2 separate regions of the Homo sapiens genome follow, and region 1 is linked to region 2. The links are contacts of gene promoters, found by promoter capture Hi-C in blood cells and fetal thymus (Javierre and others, 2016). All regions are on one chromosome and are shown on one strand. Each heading gives the region's core, a stretch centred on a gene start or on the middle of the fragment in contact. The rest is flanking DNA. Distances are from core to core; before and after follow the strand shown. Region 1 has its middle 14 kb from the start of PLEKHM3. Region 2 holds the start of KLF7 (KLF transcription factor 7).

Region 1 (4,348 bases), core at 424-2,923, 870 kb before region 2:
GTTGATAAATTGCAAACAGGCGGCCAGGCGCAGTGGCTCACGCCTGTAATCCCAACACTTTGGGAGACTGAGGCGGGCAGATCATGAGGTCAGGAGATTGAGGCCATCCTGGCTAACACGGTGAAACCCCATTTCTACTAAAAAAAAAAAAAATGAAAAAAAAATAGCCAGGCGTGGTGGCACGTGCCTGTAGTCCCAGCTACCCAGGAGGCTGAGGCAGGAGAATCACTTGAGCGACAGAGCAAGACTCCATCTAAAAAAAAAAAAAAATTGCGAACAGGCATGGAGGAGCCGGGGTACAGTATTTTGAATCACTATACACAATGCAACAAAGATTTATTAAGCACTCAGGTCACAAACATTGTACTGGGCACTGAGGACAGGATGGTACAACAAAAATAGGCAGAATTATTGCTTATGGAACATGTGGTTATTCTCATGAAGCTTACAGTTTCACAGCAAGGTAATTATTAACATAAAAGCATTCTGATAAGTATAAACGTTTACTGTAAATGCTGTGAAGAGGAGCATATGGTGCTATAATTGCATGATATAGACGTCGTCAACCTAGAAGGGGCACTAAGGGACAACTTTCCTGAAGGGCTGACTACTGAGCTGAGAGCTGAAGGATGAGTGGAAACTACTCGGGTAAAGAGTGTTCTAGACAGAATGATATGCAAAGGCCCTGTGGCAGGAATGAGCATGAATTGCTCATGGCATTGAAGAAGGCTGCAGTGGCTGAAGCAGACGCTAGGGGGAGCATGGTACAAGATGTTGCTAGGGAGGAAAAAAGGACCAGACCATGTCTGGGTCTCTTAAATCACAGTAAGAATTCTTATGAGCAATAGGAAGCTACTGAAATGCTTAAGCAGGTTTCTGTTTTGAAAGAGCTACTCTGGCTGTTGGCTGTTGCAGAGTTAATGGATTGAAAGGGCCAATAGTGCTGCTAGGAGGTGATTGCAGGACAATTGCAGTCACCCAGAGGAGAGAAGATGGAAGCTTGGTCTAGGGTTGGGAGAGGGGAAATGAAGAGAGGTAGACAGCTCTGCACAGAAGAGTTCCCTGTATGTGATGCAAGCTTCTAGGAGAGCTAAGCATTTGAAGCCTTTGTTATAAAGCTAACTGATTATGGAACAGTAGTTTTAATTTAGGTGGCCGTATTAGGTTTGTAAGCATGTGATTGACTTCTAGCTTCATATTTTAAAAGTGATAATGGGACAGGCAGTTTTTCTAGAGAAGTGGAGTCCTGGAGAGTGAGTAGAGAAGCCAGCTCAAGGAGAAATTCCTCAGGAGTGCCATTCTGCTTTATCACCACTGAGTGCTGCTGTTTCCAATGACAAGTTCCCAAGAAACCAAAGGGCCAAGTAAGGTAAGAGGAACAGTGGCGGGGGAGCGGGGGGTTGGCAGGGGGCAGCGGGGAACCAACTTAGAGTTTTAAAAAGTGGAGAAGACAAAGATGTTTTCTAATTTTGGAAACCTGAGTCCTAAGCTGCAAGGGTCCAAATCAAATTTTTGGGAAGGTCATTTTGTAATATGGTAACTTCTTGCTTTACTGTCAGCATCTCTAAAGACAGTCCCCAGTAATAAAGGGGCCAAAAGAGGCTTTTTTAGAACCATTAGTGTACCCCTCCTGTACAGTCCCATTAGCGGGCCTTGTTAAACCAACCCAGACAAAGAGCAAAGATGCCCTAGTTAATGGAGAGTCTCCGATAATTACTCTGCTCAGCCGCTTCTTTTAGGGTCTGAATGGTCTTTAAATAATGTTTCTCTTGCTGTGGTCACAGACAATGACCTAGCAGTCTGCTTTAAGCGGTGCCAATCCCATTAGCCGAAGAATAGCAAAGCTCTGTGTGTGTCTGCGTGCCAAGGAGCGAGTGTGTGTGTGTGTATGTGTCTGTGCGTGCATGTGCGTGTGGTGAGGAGCTCAGCTTATGGCAGGGATCAGGCTTAATGTTGCTTTCTTCCTCTTTTCCTCCCTTTCTCTACACATCCATCCCTCCCAGGAACCAAACATACCACTGTGTCTATTGGGTCATCTGCCTGTTGAGTGACAACCTGCCCTTACTGAAAATGGAAACAGACTCCCTTAAATGCTTGCGGACGATGTTTCTCATTCCTACTTACTAAACACTTCTCTGTAGGATGTGATTCTAAACATGCCCCTGTCCTCTAAGAACTTCACGTCCCAGAACCACAATAATGCAAACAATGTAAAGTCACCCCAGTAAATGTGTGCCATTCAGGGTGGAAAATGTTTTAAAAGCTTCATAAATGTGGAAGAAAAAGATTGAGGGTACAAAAGTTATAGGAAGAATGCCAAGATCTTTGGAATATTTTCCTCTGTGGCTCTCTCTCCTGATGCCTTGCAACTCTTTTTTCTGATAATGAGAATGCTTACTTATATTTGAAGACAAGTTATATCCCAGACACAGAATGTGGAAACGGGGCAACATTAATTTATTTAGGAAGGATCGAGTGCTCCAACATGAAAGTGTGAATAAGTTCGATCGTGAACTGTTTTGTAATAAAAATGTACAAAACAACATTCAGAAACACTGCCGTAAATGGAACCTGGTTGCAACCTGCTCTTGCCCACCGTTGTCTGGAGGACTTTTTCAGAAGCTCCAGAGTGGTCTGATTCAACAGTTTTTGAATCAACTGAGTGTGAAAACAGGCTAGCATAAGTAGGTAGGGTGACTCCACTCACACAAATACATGGGAGTGAGTTATTTGCAGCTCATTAAGTATCACAGGGCCTCTCCCCACCACATACCCACCCATCACCCACATCATATGCCTCCTAGGAAGAATGATTATATTGAAGCCAACAGGATAAAAGAGCCATTTTCTGTTTCTGGGTTCTAGAAAGACATCCTAGACAAAGAAATAGTCTACTTGGTAAAACTAAAAAGATGCTCCATTTAGTTCTTACTTTCTTTAACTTTGATCTGCAGTTGTTGTTGTTGTTGTTGAGACAGGGTCTCACTCTGTCACCCAGGCTGGAGTGCAGTGGCATGATCTTGGCCTGAGCAACAAGAGTGAAACTCCATCTCAAAAAAAAAAAAAAAGCTCATTTGGGTCTCAGTGTAGTGTTGGGGGAAGATTTTTAGATCACATAAGAAAAGAAAAGAGATGGGGCTGTTAGAGATAGGAGTGGACCTTAGGTAAGATATAAAAAAAAAACAAAAAACAAAAAAACAGGCCAGGTGCAGTGTCTCGTGCCTATAGTACCAACATTTTGGGAGGCTAACGCAAGAGGGTCACTTAAGGCCAGGAGTTTTAGACTAGCCTGGGCAACGTCCTATCTTTGTAAAAAAAGAGAAAGACAAATTTAAATTAGCCAGGTGTAGTGGCCTGATCCTGTAGTCCCAGCTATTCAGGAGGCTGAGGTGGGAGTTCAAGGCTGCAGTGAGCTATGATTGCGCCACTGCACTCAAGTCTGGGCAACAGAGCAAGACCTGGTATCTTAAAAATAAAAAAACAAAAGACATGATGTGTGCTTCATGAAAGGGCCATATACGCAAACCAACCCCCAAATGCAGAAGGAACCAAGAAACCAAAGAACAAGGCAGACAAATCCAGTTTGTCAGTAGAGGGTTATTTACTGGGGAACTTATGGACAAAAGGATGGTCTTGGGCAGCTGCCAGACAGGTAGATTTCCACAGTTTTCTCCCAGATATATACCACAGAGAAAGGGTATATGTGCTTTAGAAGGAATGTATAAGGACAATTGAAGTCCACCTCTCAGGAAAAGGGAAGAATGCTATGTGTGTCATAGCCTAAGGGCAGGATTTGATAACATCAAGGGTGTCTTGGCCTAAGAACAGGATTTACAGACAGTATACATAGATAAAAATAGAAATCTTAGAGGCATTCCCCAGACTGGGGTTAATCAGAAGTCAACATGGCAGATTAGCATCCAAGATGGAGTCACTTTTGTCTCCACAACCAGTTCACCAAAATTTGAACAAGGGAGTGTTCTTTCCAAAATGCTCTTTGCTTGTAGACAAATGAGTATGTTTGCCTTAATTGTCATAGACATTTATTTGATTTCTGTTTGAGTATTGCTCTTAGATCTTAAACTGGAAGGATGACTATATGTCCATCACCTAATAAACATTTTGATGTCTAGTATTCCTTTATCTGAAAAACAAAAAAACAAAATAACAACAAATCCTTAAAAATCACTGTTGAAACCCAAGTATAATTCTGAATCCTGATTGTCTTCAACATTACAAATATAAATTGCTCATTAGATCTTCCTATAGACCATCATTGTGCTTGGTATTGTGAAGAGTAGTAAATATAATTCCTAATCCTACACTTTGTGGCTAGGATTCTAATTCA
Region 2 (4,569 bases), core at 1,397-3,896:
CCGGCCCCACCCAAGCAATTTTTGTAAACACACACTGACTTAAAGCTGAGGAACCCCATTTTTCACCATACAAAGCTCAGTACAGAACAGTGTGGGGAGTCAGATGCTCTTGGATTTGAACCCCTGCTTGACCACTTCCAGGTTGTGAGACCTTGACCAACTTACTTAGTATTTCCAAGCGTGGGTATCTTCATCCATAAAGTTGGGGATACTTTGGGGCTGTCCTTAAGATTAAATGAGACATTGCATATAAAGTGTTTATGCGCATACGGCACATTCGAAGTGCTTAATAAATGGGAACTATTATTTGTAAAATCTTCAAACTCACGTTAACCGATATGTCCTATTTTATTCAAAAATTGTTATAATGTAACACACACAAAATAAGTTCACTTGAGTCTCAAGTACCAAATTATATGGTTGGTCTTGCCTCACCTTTTGCCTCTAGTTTTCTATACCCAAGTTCCTTTCCTTCCCCTATTATTCATGAACATGTTTTTTGCCCTAGTGTTTCTCAATGGTTCCTGCCCATCCCCCCAGTTGAAATAGCATGGGGGTCAGGGGAGAGCATGGAGAAGGGGAGACCTTGTAACAAACTAGCAAGGGGTTTCTACCTTTCCTCTATCTCCAAGATTCTATTAATAGTATATTCTCCTAAAGGTCCTATTAGTTTACATAGCTCAAGTGGGGAGACAATGATAGCTAATATTTAGTATTCACCTAATAGTGTCAGATACTATGCTAGGTGAGTTACCAAAGATATTTTGACTCTTCATAACAACTAGACAACGCGGATCCCACTATTTCTGTTTCTGAGATGGGTAGATACAAGTTCTGACCCAGTAATTCGCTCAAAGTCGTGCAGCTAGTTAGCTGGCAGCGTCCTTGCACATCTAATTGCAGATGCATCTGCATCTACATTAGAGTAAATGTTCCAATTATACTCATACAATGAATGCTATGAATCTGGCCAACAGAATTCCAGACACTAACAAGTAAATAAATCAGGCTTTCCTCAATCCCAGTAATTCATGTTTAATATTCCTTGGCAAATACTGAATTTCAATCTGTGCTTATTTCATAGAGTAGAATCTTTCAAATGTTGTGTTATCGAGTCCTACATAGTCAAAGGGAGGGGAAAGACAAGGAGGGTGATTAAGGTGAAGCGTTTCTTCCATTACTGGTAGAACGAAGTTTCTCATCTCTTAAGCACCGAATTCTGCAATCATTCCAAAAGTGGAAGCTCAGCTCACAGCGCATTTTGGGGAAGCTTAAACCACACTAACCATTTAAGGTCAAGCAAACAATTGGCCAACCCTAACGTGAATTGTGCAGGGTTTTCATCTCAGATGTAACAGATCTCTCTATGTCTACATCCCAACTCCAGAAAACGAGAAATCGAGTTCCTCCTCTCACCATCGAAGCTCTGCAGACACCTCGCTGGAGACCCCATGGTGAGCCTCATCACGTAAAGGCCCCCTCGCAAGCTGCCGGCTCCAGCTTGCGCCCCACGTCTACCTAGGCTCCCTCTAGCCTCTTTAACGCACAGTCGAGCAACAGGCCCCTTGCAATCAACTCTAGCCGCCGGACTCCCGACCAGGTCTCTCGCTCGGGGTCAGAAGGAGGCGCGGGAGGGAGGGCGGCGGCGGCGGCGCCCGCGGGGCGGGGCGGGGACTGTGCGCAAGCGGGGGGCGGGCGCAGGCCGCGGTCTCGCTCCGCTCCCCTTTGTTCTCTCCCATTGTGTGGCACTTCCTCCTCAGGCGCTTCTTCTCTGCACCCTGGCAGCCCGTGGGGAGTTCGGGAAGGGGCCCTGGATGCCTTTTCTGCTTGTTTTTGAGTACGTGAGGACCTCCCCGGCACCGCCTCGCGCGGGTCCCTGCCCCGTGCCCAGGCGGAGGCGGGGTGGCCACTGTCCTTCCTTCCCGCTCCGCGCCCTCGGCGGCTTCCCCGCGGCCCCCTGCGCCGCGCCCCCTCCAGGAGGCGTCCTGACCCCGCACTCCGGCCTTTCACCTCCCGACCGTCAGCCTCAGGGCCGCCGCGGCGACGCGCGACCCCTTCCCTCTGAGGGGCGCGGGCTCCGGACGCGCCGGGCTCTGCCAGGCATCTAGTGGAGGGTCGGAGGTCGGCGACCAGCCCGAGCCCAGCCGTCCCGGGAGCTGGCGCGAGTGTCGCCACGACCCTCCCTGTCCCTTGCGCTCGCGCTGCCCGGCCGCCGGGCGGCCGCCTCAGCCCCCTTATATAGCCCTCTAAAAATAGCTCGCCTCGCACCGCCTTGTAAGGCAGCAGGGAGATCCGCAGCGTGCCAATCCGCGCCCGCCGCCAGGGCCAAGCCCCGCCCCAGGCTCTGCTCCGGGCTCCCCATTGGTCCTCAGTGACTTCATGAGCCCCCTGTTTACCTTACATGGTCACACGCGGCCTAATGGACGCCCTCCTCGAGATCCCACGGCTGCGCGGAGAACCGAACGGAGGGAGGGAGTTTGGGGAGGGGGAAGAGCAGGAGGAGGAGAAAAGGGAGGGGGAAGACTACAAACTAGCAAGGATGGGGTGGGGGGTGGGGAGGGAAGGGAAGGGGGGGGAAGAGAAGCGATCGCGAGAGAAAAAAATGCAACCTCCCAAAATAAAGAGCAAAGATTGCATTAGGAGCGAACAGCGCTGCAGAAATAGATGGCAGCTTCGTGTCAGTGAGTTTGCATCCCCCTTCCTGATCCACGAGCTGGAGTGATTAGAGCCCTGGAAGGGAATTGTTACTCCCGTGGAGAAGTCCCCTTTTCCTGGCAGTCGTCTGCACTGTACACGCTGGATGCCTCTCTCCATCCACCCCACTCACTCGCTCCTCTCTCACCTCCTCTCTCCCTCTCCTGCATTGATTTTTTTTTTTCCTTTTTAGTTGACTGAAACAAAACAAAACAAAAGGGCCACTGGATGTCTGCCTTCTTGGGGGGTGAGCCAGACAGACTGACAAACAAACAGCCCCAACTGTGTTCGGGGGAGGGTTTCGCCTCCCGTTTTGCCCGGCAGCAGCAGCATGGACGTGTTGGCTAGTTATAGTATATTCCAGGAGCTACAACTTGTCCACGACACCGGCTACTTCTCAGCTTTACCATCCCTGGAGGAGACCTGGCAGCAGGTGAATGATTTAAATTACTTGTGTAAATCGTGTGGTGGCGGCGGAGACGCAGGGGCTGCGTTGGTGTGGGCTCTGGGTTGAAATTTTTGTTTGTTTGTTTGACTTTTTTTTCTTCCTTTTTGGCTGTCTGTTGTTGAAAATGTTTTCTGAAACAGTCATCTGCGCTTACCTCTCCACCCACCCCTAACCTCGTAGAGTGCCGAGCTGAGCAGCCGGTGCGAGCTGCCTGCGTTTCAGTCGCCAACACACATCCCTGCGCACACGTTGTCGGGTTTGCTGTCCCCTATCAGAGACCTGCCGAACTTCTGGGGTTCGGAGGAGCCGGGTGGGAAGGTGGTTTGGGGTGTTAGGAGCGATTGCTGACAGGGACCACGTTCTCGCATGCATGAGCTCTACCCACTTGATACCTGAAATCAGGTTCATCTGTTTCAACTGGTGCTTATGACCATCGGATGGGGGGCGGGGGAGGGTGGGCAGGAGCAAAGCGGAGTGTTTTTCAGTAATTAGCGAGTGTCAATAAAGAATAGGAGCTTGATTTTGAGATTAGAAGGTAGGCAAAAGAGAGAAGAGCCCACTGACAAAAGATACTCAAGGAGGACGGGAAGATGTAGCTGAGGCTGACAATGAATTGTAGGTTTTCCCAGTGTGATCCCTCCAGAAAGAGAACACCCTCTATGCGTGTCCTTGTTTCTCTTTTTTGTTTAGGGTCCTTCTCTAGTTAGGCAGCACAACCTCGGACAAAGGCTGATGTGTGCTTCCATGCCTTTGACTTTGTCTTAGAGGACTAGTTAAGAAACTCCCAGGATGCTGAAGGGCACCGATGCCAAGTTGGCTAGCCGTCCCAGGGAGGATGAAGTGGGGCTGGTGACAAGTTCACTGGGCTTTGTGAAGTGGAATAAAGAAAGTGCTGGTCAGTGGAAAGTGCTGGCTCTGCTGCGGAAACAGTGGTTTTTTTCAGCAGCGATTAGGAGCTGCTGAGGGGACATTCTGCAGGAAAGATGGTGGGTGGGGGCGGGGGGACACGGGTATTTAAAAATTGTACAGTGTGCACCATGGAAAGTCCAAGAAGACAGTCCGGATTTGCACATAGGAAGTGTGAACTTGTACAGTCCGTCCTGGAGAAACCCGCTTGCCCTTGGGGGGAGGGCTGTGAGAGGCTCGGTGTGTGGCTGCTCGTGTAATTTCTTCGCTTAGTGACAGCAGCTTGTTAAGGCTAATGAACGGCTGAATTTCCTCTGCCGGGATCCAAAGCAGGATTTGCCAGCTTGAGGCTGAGATGTAACAGTCTCTGCTTTAGCAAAAGAGGTTTGGCTTTTGGTATAAGGAGCCGAGTGGCAAGGCGGATCCTTTAACTGTACCATTGTTGCTAGTTCACTTCTGGTCAGAGGCTGTGAGTTTTCCTCCAGGTATTGGCGTCTGGTGTCTCTGTGTCCACACATGCA

What was found. Contacts are between HindIII fragments. The CHiCAGO score rates a contact against its expected background, and 5 or more counts as called.
Region 1: a contact is called between a fragment that was not itself captured here and the fragment with the promoter of KLF7 in region 2, in 1 of 17 cell types (neutrophils). The highest score is 5.6, in neutrophils.

What each region holds. Positions count from the first base shown.
Region 1 is chr2:208,037,369-208,041,716 of GRCh38, reverse strand. No RefSeq gene overlaps it. Among named protein-coding and RNA genes, the nearest start is that of PLEKHM3, 14 kb to the right of the region's middle. The HindIII fragment of the contact is 1,185 bases long and covers 1,081-2,265 here.
Region 2 is chr2:207,164,025-207,168,593 of GRCh38, reverse strand. KLF7 (KLF transcription factor 7) reads left to right here and starts at 2,646. Exons shown (of 4, transcript NM_003709.4): 1 at 2,646-3,127. The coding sequence starts at 3,026. It overlaps MIR7845 (microRNA 7845), which reads right to left and starts at 2,194; the gene lies at 2,096-2,194. RefSeq lists silencers at 1,135-1,184, 1,805-2,444 and enhancers at 802-1,510, 1,511-2,218, 2,219-2,927, 2,935-3,034, 3,636-4,344 and 1 more. The HindIII fragment of the contact is 8,010 bases long and covers 1,273-4,569 here.